Linked DNA regions of Homo sapiens: region 1 is linked to region 2. The links are contacts of gene promoters, found by promoter capture Hi-C in human tissues and cell types (Jung and others, 2019). All regions are on one chromosome and are shown on one strand. Each heading gives the region's core, a stretch centred on a gene start or on the middle of the fragment in contact. The rest is flanking DNA. Distances are from core to core; before and after follow the strand shown. Region 1 has its middle 12 kb from the start of EFNA1. Region 2 holds the start of THBS3 (thrombospondin 3).

The links. The method cuts DNA at HindIII sites, captures the fragments that hold promoters and counts their contacts. A contact is called where the count stands out against the background at its distance.
Region 1: a contact is called between a fragment that was not itself captured here and the fragment with the promoter of THBS3 in region 2, in 3 of the 25 tissues and cell types used here (IMR-90 fibroblasts, lymphoblastoid cells and thymus).

Annotation. Positions count from the first base shown.
Region 1 is chr1:155,112,258-155,118,817 of GRCh38, reverse strand. No RefSeq gene overlaps it. Among named protein-coding and RNA genes, the nearest start is that of EFNA1, 12 kb to the left of the region's middle. The HindIII fragment of the contact is 7,406 bases long and covers 1-6,560 here.
Region 2 is chr1:155,206,528-155,213,245 of GRCh38, reverse strand. It overlaps THBS3 (thrombospondin 3), which reads left to right and starts at 5,349. Exons shown (of 23, transcript NM_007112.5): 1 at 5,349-5,448. The coding sequence starts at 5,370. MTX1 (metaxin 1) reads right to left here and starts at 4,551. Exons shown (of 8, transcript NM_002455.5): 1 at 3,914-4,551; 2 at 2,831-2,900; 3 at 2,619-2,698; 4 at 1,027-1,119; 5 at 679-861; 6 at 476-552; 7 at 1-9. The coding sequence starts at 4,441. RefSeq lists a silencer at 4,002-4,201 and an enhancer at 5,565-6,348. The HindIII fragment of the contact is 12,638 bases long and covers 3,997-6,718 here.

The DNA of each region.
Region 1 (6,560 bases), core at 2,401-4,900, 93 kb after region 2:
AACTAAGGCTCCGAAAGGTGATGGTATTCAGAACTCAGATGGGGAGCCAGGCGCAGTGGCTCATGCCTGCAATCCCGGCACGTTGGGAGGCTGACGTGGGCAAACTTGAGTTCAGGAATTCGAGACCAGCCTGGGTAATGTGGTGAAACCCCATCTCTCTCTCTCTCTCTCTTTTTTTTTTTTTTCTTGGAGACTGAGTCTCACTCTCACTCTCAGTGTGCATTTCCCCTCGCATGGTTCCCGCACAGGCCAACAGGGGCAAGCCCAGGAAGTAGAGGCTACAGTGAACCGAGATGGCATCACTGTGCTCCAGCCTGGGCAACAGAGCGAGACCCTCTCTCAAAACTCAAAAAAAAAAAAAAAAAAAAAAAGGCCAGGTGAGGTGGTTCACTCCTGTAATCCTAGCACTTTAGGAGGCCGGGTGGGCAGATCACCTGAGGTCAGGAGTTTCAGACCAACCTGGCCAACATAGTGAAACCCCAGCTCTACTAAAAATACAAAAATTAGTTGGGCGTGGTGGCGCGTGTCTGTGGTCCCAGCTACTACTCAGGAGGCTGAGTCAGGAGAATATGGCTTGAACCCGGGAGGTGGAGGTTGCAGTGAGCCAAGATTGCACCACTGCACTCCAACCTGGGCGACAGAGCAAGACTCAGTCTCAAAAAAAAAAAAGAACTCAGGTGGGGTACATTTGATGGGGCTTGGATCTACACCATGCTATTCCTTCTACGCCCCACTTGCCTGGCTCTCCTGGGGATAAAGGAGATATGGCACCAAGTGCTATATCTGTATCTGCTGGGAGCAAATGGGGGGAGTCAGTAGAGAAGGTAAAGGAAAGAGCTAGAGAGGGGGCTGGGTGTGGGACAGTCTCAGAGGGAACCTGAGGCGGTTTGTGGGACAGGCTCTGAGATGCAGTCCCCCAGGGCTTAAGCTCACCCTGGCCCGTCCCTGCAGGCAGGTGGGAGATGGCCAGATAATGGACAGCTCATTTGTTTGTATAACAGGTGCTCTGCCTAAGTGCCGCAAGCCACATCCAATAAAGGCAGCTGGTGAACAGGGAGACAGTGCAGAGAGGGGTGGGGTCGGGGGCCCAGCTGTGGAAACTTGGGAAAGTTACCTAACCTCTCTGAGCCTCACCTTTTCTTCATCATAAAATGGGGTCAAGACTACTTTCTCTATGCAATTATTATTATTATTATTATTATTATTATTATTATTATTATTAATTTATTTACTTTGAGATGGAGTTTTACTCTTATTGCCCAGGCTGGAGTGCAATGGCGCGATCTCAGCTCACCGCAACCTCCGCCTCCCGGGTTCAAGTGATTCTCCTGCCTCAGCCTCCGGAGTAGCTGGGATTACAGATGCCTGCCACCACGCCCCATTAATTTTTTTTTTTTTTTTTTTTGAGACAGAGTCTGACTGTCACCCAGGCTGGAGTGCAGTGGTGTGATCTCGGCTCACTGTAAGCTCTGCCTCCAGGGTTCATGCCATTCTCTTGCCTCTGCCTCCCAAGCAGCTGGGACTACAGGTGCCCGCCACAATGCCCAGCTAATTTTTTTTTTTTTTTTGTATTTTTAGTAGAGATGGGGTTTCACTGTGTTAGCCAGGATGGTCTCGATCTCCTGACCTCGTGACCCGCCCGACTCAGCCTCCCAAAGTGCTGGGATTACAGGCGTGAGCCATTGCGCCTGGCCTCCATGCAATTATTGCAGGGATCGAATGAAATAATAGATGTGCGGGCCTGGCACTTAGCCTGGGGAGTGGGTTGTGCATAAGCACGGGGTGAATTTCCCCTCGCATGGTTCCCGCACAGGCAGAAGGGGGCAAACGTGCTGATAGTGAGGGTAAGGATACAGGGAAGTGGGGAGGAGTCCCAGGATCACGAATGGGATGGGTATGTGGTAAATGCCCTAGGATGAGGTGGCCAAGAGTGCTGAGGTTCTGTGAGGGCAGAGTGATGAGTGGGGGAAGTGACTTTTGAGGGTTCTCGGGTGAGGTTGGTGGGCAAGGGCATTCCATGCCCAAAGGAATCCTATGGGCCACACTGCCCTGCCCCTGCATGGGCGAGGGGAAGGTGACAGGGAAGATCTGTCCCCCAGAGCTCCTTCTTCCCTCCTTCCTGGTCCTTTTTCCTCCCCTGGCTCCACTGTAGTCTCCCCCACCCTCCCCTGCTCTCCTTCTTCCTCTTGGCTCTGGCATCATCAAGTCCTCCAACCTTGGCCGGGCACTGTTTGGTCTGAGTTTCGTCTTAAACAGGAGTAGGACTTGATTAAGTAATGGTGGGGGGAGGGTACAAAAAGCACTGAAGAGACAGAGTTTGGGCAGGGGGAATAGGGAGGAGGCCAGGAACCACCCAGAGAGGTAGGGCAGGAGAAAACAGATAGCTGGAATGCCAGGTGGAAAGCAGTAAATTCCTTGGGGGTGGCACACCGCACTGTGGCACTCAAAAAAGAGCTCCTCTCCTGGCACAAATCCCCATGTCTGGGGAGGTGTTGGGCGTCCTAGGGGAGGTCCTTTGGAGACTGGGCTTATCAGGAAATTGGTTTTAAATGGGCTGAGGGCATACCAGATTGGGCTGGAGAAGGGCTCTTGGGCAAACCCAGGTTGGCTTCAGAAGCAAGCTGAGGGGGTTGTATTTAATTGGGAAGTTGCCCTGGGAATAGTCACAGCATCAGCTCATGTTTATAGAACATGTTCCTTATTCCAGGCTCATTTGAAGCACTTTGTGTACATTAATGCACTTAATCTTCACAGTCACCATAAGAGGTAGGTAGAATTATTATCTTTATTTTATTTTATTTTATTTTATTTTTTTGAGATAGGATCTCACTTTGTCGCCCAGGCTGGAGTGCAGTGGCACCATCATAGCTCACTACAGCCTCGACCTCCTGGTTCAAGTGAGCCTTTCCCTCAGCCTCTTGAGTAGCTTTGACTGCAGGTGCACGCCACCACCACCCACCTAATTTTCGTATTTTTAGTAGAGACGGGTTTTCCTCATGTTGGCCAGGCTGGTCTCGAACTCCTGACCTTAAGTGATCCACCTGTCTCAGCCTCCCAGTGTACTGGGATTACAGGTGTGAGCCACCATACCCGGCCTATAGAGCTGTTCTCTTTCTTCTGGGATGACTGAGGTGATGAGATGGCAGTCGAAGACTATATTTTGCCTCCCTGACAAATACACTTGGCCTCCCTGCAGGCATTGCATTTGCAAGCCAGTTCTTCATCCTCACACATGACAATTCCAGGGCCTTAAATCCCAATCCCATGTTCTCTCTCCACTTCTCTATCTCAAAGCACTATTCCCAGGCTCTAATTTACAACTTCTCAATCCATTTTTCACCATGTTGGCCAGGGTGGTCTCGAACCCCTGACCTTAAGTGATCTGCCCACCTCGGCCTCCCAAAGTGCTGGGATTACAGGTGTGAGCACTTTAAATTTAACTTGCTGAAATAGAGCTCCTTGTCATTTCTTCAAAACACAGGTCTGCTCCTGATTTCCTTGGCTTGTTTATGGTTTGAGTGGGATCACCCCATCTCCCAGGTGCCGTAGCGGGCAATATCCTGAGACTGGCCAGTCCCAGCACAGCAGCCCCAGGCCACAGGGATTGGTTTGGGAAAGGGAATGTAGTCTAAGACAGGATAAACGGGAATCTCCAAAAAAATTGAGGGGAATGGAAGCTGGGCAAGCAAACAGGCAGATTTAACTAGAAGAGCCTGGTAGCTTGAGGTTGCAGAAAGGAGGGAAGGATGTTTTTAAGGGATGGGGAAACCCAGGCCCAGTTGTTGATAAAGAGGAAAGAATTCATGAGAGTCTATGCCCAGATTAACTGCCACTTCCCCAGGCCTCACCTAGGTGAAAAGCTTAGTACTCAGGAGGCTGAGGCGGGAGGGTCCACTAGAGACCAGGGGTCTGAGTGCACTCCAGCCTGGGCAACAGAGTGAGGGCCCTGTCTTTATTTATTTATTTTTTTTTTTGAGACAGAGTCTTGCTCTTGTTGCTCAGGCTGGAGTGCCGTGGCGGGATCTCGGCTCACTGCAACCTCTACTTCCCGGGTTCAAGTGATTCTCCTACCTCAGCCTCCCAAGTAGGTGGGTTTACAGGCGTCTGCCACCACGCCCATATAATTTTTGTATTCTTAGTAGAGATGGGGTTTCACCTTGCTGGCCATGCTGGTCTCGAACACCTGATTTCAAGTGATCCACCCGCCTCAGCCTCCCAAAATGCTGGGATTACAGATGTGAGCCACTGCACCTGGCCTCAAGAGCCTGTCTTTAAAAAGAAAAAAAAAAAAAGTTTGGGCTTTGGAGAGAGATTGCAAAGATTTGAATCCCAGCTCCATCACTTATTTGGATATGACCCTGGGCCAATCACATCTGTGCCTGTTTCCTAATTTATGAAATAAGGATGATAATAATAGTGCCCACCCTTTGGATCATGATGAGGATGAAATGAGATAATGTATGTAAAGTACTTAGAACGGCTGGCCTGTTTGGCATATAGAAAAACCTCAGGATTAATATTAATATTGTTATTATTTTTTTCTTTTTTGAAATGGAGTCTTGCTCTGTCACCCAGGCTGGAGTGCAATACTGCAATCTTGGCTCACTGCAACCTCCACCTCCTGGGTTCAAGTGTTTCTCCTGCCTCAGTCTCCTGAGTAGCTGGGATTACAGGCATGCACCACCACGCCTGGCTAATTTTTGTATTTTTAGTAGAGACGGGGTTTCACCATGTTGGTCAGGTTGGTCTTGAATTCCTGACCTTGTGATCCACCCATCTCGGCCTCCCAAAGTGCTGAAATTACAGGTGTGAGCCACCATGCCCAGCCAGGATTAGTATTATGACAGCAATTATTAGGATTTTTATTGTAGAAGGCTCACAGTGACAGTAACAAGTTTTAAGCCAACTGGCTCCTGCTTCTGCTTGCTGACATAGGACCTCCAGCCCCTTGCAAAGTCCCTCTGAAATATCACTGATGGTCCCCCTAGGGCATTTCACATGGGCTCAGAAACATGTTTGGGCTGGCTGAGTGCTGCAGCTGTTCTGGAGGGCTCAGTGTTTTCCTGCTGGTGGGGGTTGGGGCACTGGAAATCTCTCCTCTCCCTTGTCACCTCTGTTGGGGGTTCCCAAGAAAGGCGGCTTGTGCTTTCATGTGTTACAGATTGGCATGTCTGTTCTTCGATTTTTTTTTTCTTTTTAAGACGGACTCTCACTGTCACCCAGGCTGGAGTGCAGTGGTGAAATCTTGGCTTGCTGCATAGTCTGCCTCCCGGGTTCAAGTGATTCTCTTGCCTCAGCCTCCTGAGTATATGGGATTACAGGCGCATGCTACCATGCCTGGCTAATTTTTGTGTTTTTTTTGTTGTTGTTTTTGTTTGTTTGCTTGTTTTTTGTTGTTGTTGTTTGTTTTTTGTGATGGAATCTTGCTCTGTTGCCAGGATGGAGTGCAGTGGCGTGATCTCGGCTCACTGCAACCTCCGCCTCCTGGGTTCAAGCAATTCTCCTGCCTCAGCCTCCTGAGTAGCTAGGACGACAGGCGCACACCACCACACCCAGCAAATTTTTTGTGCTTTTAGTAGAGACGGGATTTCACCATGTTAGCCAGGATGGTCTTGATCTCCTGACCTCGTGATCTGCCTGCCTCAGCCTCCCAAAGTGTTGGGATTACAGGTGTGAGCCACTGCACACGGCCAATTTTTTGTATTTTAGTAGTGCCAGGGTTTCACCATCTTGGCCAGGATGGTCTCGAACTCCTGACCTCAAGTGATCCACCCACCTTGGCCTCCCAAAGTGCTGGAATTACAGGCATGAGCCACTTCACCTGGCCCAATTTTTTTTTAATCATCTGATTTTTAGATTCATCTTTAATTTTCATTCACAGTCACCTCTATCCACAGGGCCCTGACAGGCTTCCCTGGGGCTGGACTGAGGATGGATCTGCACACTTGCTGCCATGCTATGCTGCAGCGGGATTTCTTTTTTTTTTCTTTTTTCTTTTTTTTTTGAGACAGAGTCTCCCTCTGTTGCCCAGGCTTGAGTGCAGTGGTGCCATCTCAGCTCACTGCAAGCTCCGCCTCCAAGATTCAGGCCATTCTCCTGCCTCAGCCGCCCGAGTAGCTGGGATTACAGGCGCCCCCCACCACGCCCGGCTAATTTTTTGTATTTTTAGTAGAGACGGGGTTTCACCATGTTAGCCAGGATGGTCTCGATCCCCTGACCTCGTGATCCACCCGCCTTGGCCTCCCAAAGTGCTGGGATTACAGGCATGAGCCACCCCGCCCGGCCTGCAGCGGGATTTCTAGTCCTCTGAGGATGAGGGCTTTGCCACAGAGCCATTTGGGAGCTTCCTCAGCCCCTCCCGCAGGCAGCCACGCTCCTGTGAGGTGTTCCTCCTGGCTGTGGCAATTTCCGACTCCAGTGTGCACACAGCCATCACACTCCCCATAGATGGCCTGCCATGGCCCCTCCTGGGACAGCAGCCCAGGCGAGTCCTTCTGCAGAAAGCTTGGGCCAAGCAAAGGACCACCTGCCTAGGGTGAGGGCAGTCAAGGATAAGGGGG
Region 2 (6,718 bases), core at 4,100-6,599:
GAGGCAGGGCTGGAGCAGAGAGAGAAGGGTGGGATGGAGGAGAACCACTGGGGTAGAAGGGGTAAAGATGGAGCTGGAGGAAGAGTCAGCCTTGGGAGGTGGGCTCTGGGCAGCAGGCGGCCACCAGGGAAGGACAGGACACACAGTTCTAGACCTGGTATGGGGAGAGATCCCCAGGTGGCGCCAGCCTGGCCCTGAATAGGGCTCTATCCCAGGGCTGCATAAAGGGCACATTCAGTGCCCCACAGCTCTTCAGGCCCCTCCTGTGCCTGGCTGCCCTCCCACCCTACCCTTTTGTACCTCTGAGAAGGCTCTGGCCCCCACACAGTCACACTGTCACTAGGGCCAGTTTCTATCCCAGGGACCTCCTATCCAGAGCCTGAGCCAGCCCCAGCCCCAGCCCCAGCTCCAGCTGCTCCATCTGAACCTGTATCTTCTTCCAAGCCACCCATTACCCTCTTGGAGTCAGACTCACGCATCTCCAAAGAAGAACTTTTGAGAGCCCAGGCGCTGAGAGAGCAGGGTCAGACACTCCCGAGCCTCTCGGTACAGCTGTAGGGGCGACACAGGTAGGCTTGCAGCTGTGGGAACAGTGCCACCTCCCCACCTAAGCACTCCCATTCCTGGCCAGCATCCTTGGGGCTCATCTCATACAATAGCCCCCGGTCTCAGAGCTACCTCCTTCTCCAGCTCTTCCTCGTCCTCAGGCCTGTGCTCCCCAGTCAGCAGCTGTAGCCGTTCCATGTACTGCCGCTGCATGCGGCCAGGCAGGAAGAAGTTGAGGGGAAAGGGCATAGCCTCTGCATACCACTTCCGGGTCACTTCCACGTAGTTCTTGGTGTCTATCCAAAAAGTATGTACCTGGATTGGGTGGGCAGGAAGAAACAGGTAGGTCTGAGCCAGTGCACCTGTCTGATTCAAGGTGGGCTTCTGACCCCCATGCTTTCCTGAGCCTGTGTGTGGGTCTGTGTGTTCCCGAACCCTCCCCGGCTGGCCATGGATGCTGGGAGGTCTGGGCACACTCACCAGCACCGGGAGCAACTTCTCCTCCAGGAGAGACATGAAGGCCAGGGTGTCTGCCCCTTGCCGAGCTGACAGATCATAATCAGCATTGTACTTCTGTGGAGGAAATATCCATGGCGTGGACACTAGGGAGCTGCAAGGGCACTTCACCAGGGAGGAAGGAGTCCTGTCTGGTACCCCCCTCACTGGCCTCTGAGTGCAGTGGAGGTACAGCAAGGAACTTTTCCTGCCAAGGCCCCCTTGCCTGGGCCCAGCCAGTAGCCTGTTGCTGTTGGCGAAAAGCCTGGGCCTTGGAGCCTCCTGGCCGTGAAGGTCCAGCGCCCAATGCAGGGAAGGAAGGAAGGCTCCGCCGCAAACTAGGAGCAGCTCCCAGAATTTCCATGGAAAGCTGGAACAACGCCCGCTGACGGCAACTTTCTAACAGTAACTTCCCCGACCCAGACACCACAAAGCTAGCACAACGGAGCTCAGATGCAGGCTAGGACTCGGTCCATGCCTCAGGAACCAGAGAAAGCCATCCTCACACTCCCTGGATCCAGGGAACCCACGCCCAGGGCCCCCCAGCTTGTTCCCTCAGTGCCCAGCTCTTGGCTATTTCTTTCACTTCATTCCATCGCTCAGACACCATTACCACATACACATTCCACCCATACCCCCAGGTCTCAGCCTGCCCTACCTTCCCAGGCTCCAGTCCCTGTTCCTCAGCATCCCCCTCCACATCCTGAGTAAGCTTTGTCCCCAGATAACCTCTTCAGCATGATCCTTAAATCTCCCTAAGCCTCAGTTTCTCCCCTGTGGAATGGGGGTAAGAATCTCTTTCTCTGAATGCCCCTGTGTTAGGAAATAATTTAGAATACTTTGGAAACTGGAAAAGCTCTGTTCACACCTAAGCAATCAGGGCAGTGGCCTCGGCTCTGCCAGGAACTTTGGCTTTTATCTGGATCCTCTCTTTCCAGGCCTCTCAATTAATTCCCCAGGTCCTCAACCTTTGGGAAGTTAGAAATGAGGAAGAGTGTCCTACTTCTGACACTGTTCCCTCTTGGAACCTGACCGTCAATGCTAGAAGAACCCTTGGAAAACATGCTGGCCCAGCCCTCTAGTTTTACAAATAAGGGAGTGCACAGCCCTGAGAGGTTACATGGCCTGCCCGAGATCACATAGTCAATGGCAGAGTAAAGAGCATAGCCTAGGCCTCCCCACTCCTCTAGTAATGCTCTTTCATCTTCTCCAACCTGGCTCTAAGCCTTGTCCATCCTGAGCCCCATATCTAGCCCAACCTAGTCCCTGAAAACAGGAAGTGGCCCTTAGAAATCTCTCTCCAGTCCCACCATCAGAGGCCAACTGCTGTCTTCCACTCTCCTTCAGCCTGTGCTCCTCTCCCTCCCTGCCTCACAGTGCCCTAAGTTTCATCTCTTGCCGACTGCTTTAATACATCACAGTGACATTGTGTGTGTCTCTGCCACAAGACTGTTGCTCCTTGATGCTCTGGGTCACCTGCATCTAGCATGGCATATATCTGGTGCTCAATAAATGTGTATTGTATAGAATTGACTGAACTTCTCTCACTGGCAGCCCCCTCTATCCAAGTCACCTACCTCTTTTCGAAGGTGGGTGATGATCTTGTGTGGAACTGAGATGACCTCTCCATGACTGGTCCGAAGGGCAGGCAGAGTTCCTGATATTGAGAGGGAAGTATACCAACCAGACCCTTAGCTGCCTAGTCATACATAGTTGCAACACATTCCTGCCTATTTCTTGCTTCTCCCCTTGTACACACCCTTCCTTACCCCCAAGGGATACTGGGTACCTGAAGGGCTCTGCCAGGGGTTGCTGATCTTGTGTACCTTCAGTGGAGCACCAGTAAATCTGGCATAGGTCTGCAGGGAAGGAAGCAGAAGTCAGAGAGGCAGAGCCATGTCCCCCACAGTGGTATCAAGAAGAGAAATAACATTTATTGAATACCTTATGTGCCATTCCCTATACTTAGTATCTTAGTCTCGAAAAAAAAGGGGGAGTCACTACCATTTCTATTTTACAAATGGACAACACAGGGCTCAGAGAGATTCCGGACATGTCTGTGATTACAGGACAGCCAGGAAAATCCTTTCCTCTATCTCCTCTCTTGCCATCTACCTGGTGAACATCTATCCTCAGAAGCTTTTCCTAACCAGTATCCCTCTTCTTGGAAGCACTGATAATGCCCTTCTCTTTGGCAGTATCTGTGGTCTGTTCCTACTTTAACTTATATGTGAATATTTTATTATATTTATTTGCTTACCTATCTGCCTTTCTGTAAACTCGAAGGGAGGAACCAAATTTTATTCATCTTTGCCTGGCAATGTTTAATATTTGGAAGAAATCTAATAGATCCTCTTTAAAGCAAGGAGTCAATGAATAAATGAAGCAAAGGAAGTCTGATTGCTAAGCTCTTTATACAAAGCCTGGCTGTGAGTCGTTTGGTCTAACAAACAATAGCCTCAGTAAATGCTGTTAAGTGAGGAGGAAGAGGAGAAGGGGGCTGAGGAGAAGGCAGGAATTCCAAGCTAGAGTAGGTCCCTGAGACAGTCCAGCCTAGTAAACCTCCGAATGGAGAAAAAAAATGCCCAAAGAGAAAGGATCTCCGCAAGGTCACACAGCCAGTGAATGGATGAGCAAGGACTAGAACCCATCACCTGAACTCCCAACCAGGCGTCTTTTCATTGCTGCATTAAGCCTAGAAAACTACAGCATAGGGCACTGAGGCCATATCGGCCACGTACGCTCTTTGACTGCCTCAGTTTCCCCCACTGCGCCCGTGCTGAGTAGCCCTGGCAAGGTTTGGATGCTTGGCTAGTTCGGCCCCCTCCCCAGTCATCAGGGCACAGCAGAGGGCGCCGGCGCCACCCCTCACCAGCACGGCCAGGCTGTCCAGGTCCACTGACGGCAGCCCCCAGCCCCCTGACCAGCAGAACAGCTCCATGGGCGCCGCCATCTTGCCCACCCTCTGTCCCGGAAACACTTCCTTGTGTGCTTCTGCCCTCCCCTGCCTGGGCCCGCCCCCCGCCACCGCCCCTCCGATCGTTGCGGTCAGGGGGCCTGGGGAGATCCCCGGGGAGGCGAGGCTTCTTCTGGCCCGACTGGCAGCTGAACTGCGGGGGACTGGGCCGCGGGCCTCGGGGGAGGGCGGCCGCCGGCCCATCCAGAGGTGGCCCACGTAGCGGGACAGCGCTGTCGGCCCGGCGCGCCTCGGAGAGTCACGGCGCCTCGTCCAAGTGGAGCCCCGAACCCCTGAAGGCGCGGCAGGCTCTGGAGAGCGGGGTCTTGTGCGCCTGGGCCAGGTCTGGGGGCTCTTGCCAAACTGCACGTGGCCTGTACTGCTCCAGGGCCCCTTGGGGCTCGTCCCCGAGCGGGGACTGCGGGGGGGTCCCCCGAGCAGCATGTTTTCCACAGCGCGTTATGTTTGGAGCGGGCCCTGCGCCGCCTGTCGCCATGGAAACAAAACAGGGGCGGTGGCGGCGGCCGGAGCGGAGGCCGGGCTGGGGCTTGGGTGGGGGAGGGGAAGAGAGGCTCGCAGGCTGTCGCTTAGGTGACGGGAACTCAGGCGCCCCTCTGCTTCATCCGGGTCACGGCCCGTCCGCTAGTACCCACAGTGTTCCACAGTCTGGTCCTTGGCTCCTCGCCTGTACCCCTGGTCTTCTGCGCCTGTCCCTGGTGTCCCTTTCCTCTTTTTTGGTTTCTTCACTCTGACCTCACTGACCACTGCTTTAGATTCTCCCTTCAGTTCCCGTCAGACGCTTCCAGACTCCCAAGCTTTCCTACGAATGAGGGAAAATGGAGAAACAGGCACTTGTCAGGGGACCCCCCACCCTAATAAAGAGCACTTGCTCCGCCAGAACAGCAAAATTCATGCCATGTGGGCATCCCTGGGCACTATAGCAAGCTAGTTGCGGCCACTCCCTTGGCATCCTTTCCTGCCAGCTGTGGAATAATGCCCACTGTCTAGCACTGCCCCTGCCAGGGGTTCTTGCCTTCCACAATCGTGGCTTCCAGAAAACAGTGGCATTCGGTAGCGCTGTGTGCCGAGACCCCCAACAATGATGACTGCGGAGAGGGAGGCACCTGGGGGAGGATCATTAGGGAGAGGTAGAAAGCAGGGAGGCCTCCAGGATTCTTTCCCAGTGCCCCTGGTTCCCAGAGCTGATGATGCCTCCAGGGTGATTGGCAGCTCTTTGTTTCAGCCCCCCCTCACCCGCCTGCTGGCCCCCCCTCCAATTCTGTCCCTCCGCCCCCCGGCTCCTGCTCTCTCCGCCTAGCCTTTTCCCCTCCCAGCTGCCTGCCTGCCAGGGGTAGTGAGCCGGCTGAGAGGCATGGAGACGCAGGAACTTCGGGGGGCCCTGGCTCTTCTCCTCCTTTGCTTTTTCACATCTGCCAGTCAGGATCTGCAGGGTAAGCCTGTCTCCATCCTCTTAGACCGCTCTCTGCTTCTTCCCCATTTGCCCTCAGCCCAAGTAGCAGAGAACATGTGGGCAAGGGGAGAGGGGAAGAGTCCAGAAATTGAGCCAGAGGAAAACTTAAGACTGCCTAGAGTTGGTGAAATTATGGCCTGGTGGAGAGGAGTGGGCACCGGAGAGTAGTGGGGGAGCTGGAACAGGACAGGGTCAGGCATGAGGCCAGGGCAGAGGACTCAGGAACTGGATGCTCAGGCTGCCTGGCTGGGGTGGTTCCTGAGCATCTGTAGGCACCCTAGGGTCTGGGAGAGCAGCCTGAAGGTGGGCGTACTGTAGGTCCCTGGGCTTCGTCCCCCTGGGCTCCTGGCTGCCCAAGGACAGGGCGGGGGTGGGGACCAAGAAGCCTGGGCTCTCCCGGAGGTCTGGTGGTGGGATGGGCCGATGGATGTGGGAGAGGTAGCTGGAGCAGATGACACAGGCATAGATTCTTTACTGGCTGGAGGGAAAACCACAGATTGGCCAGGACACAGGAGGCAGAGGAGCTGGGTCCTACATTCCCGTGGGAGATAGCCCAGATGGTGGGAGGGTTAGAGTCCTCAGTGGGCAGCTGTTCTTATCCAGAGCGAGTGTGCTGCGCCCCTAGGATGGGAGGAGGGGAACTAGGGTGTGGAACGAGCCAAACCCAGGAGTGGAAAGAGAAGCTGCCTTCCATTTCTACGTTGTGGACACCAGGTGCCACTCCTGTGGGGGATCAGCACAGCATCTCCTTTGCGCCACCTGGTGGGGGCATCTCAAATTTGTGGGGTGCTGTTTCTGTGTTTCCAAGTGAGTCTCAAACCTGCAGGTTCCTGGAAGGTAGTAATAGGCAATAATGGGGAAAGGAAGGCACAGTGCCTCTGTCCTCTGAGAGCAACAAGGGTTGAGGTTTTTTTTTGTTTTCGTTTTGTCTTTTTGAGATGGAGTTTCACTCTTGTTGCCCAGGCTGGAGTGCAATGGCGCGATCTCGGCTCACTGCAACCTCCACCTCTCAGGTTCAAGCGAGTCTCCTGCCTCAGCCTCCTGAGTAGCTGGGATTACAGGTGCCCGCCACCACGCCCGGCTAGGTGGTTTTTTTTTCTTTTTTGTTGTTGTTTTTGTATTTTTAGTAGACACGGGGTTTCACCGTGTTGGCCAGGCTGGTCTCGAACTCCTGACCTTAGGCGATCCACCTGCCTCAACCTCCCAAGGTGTTGGGATTACAGGTGCGAGCCACCATGCCCAGCCAAGGG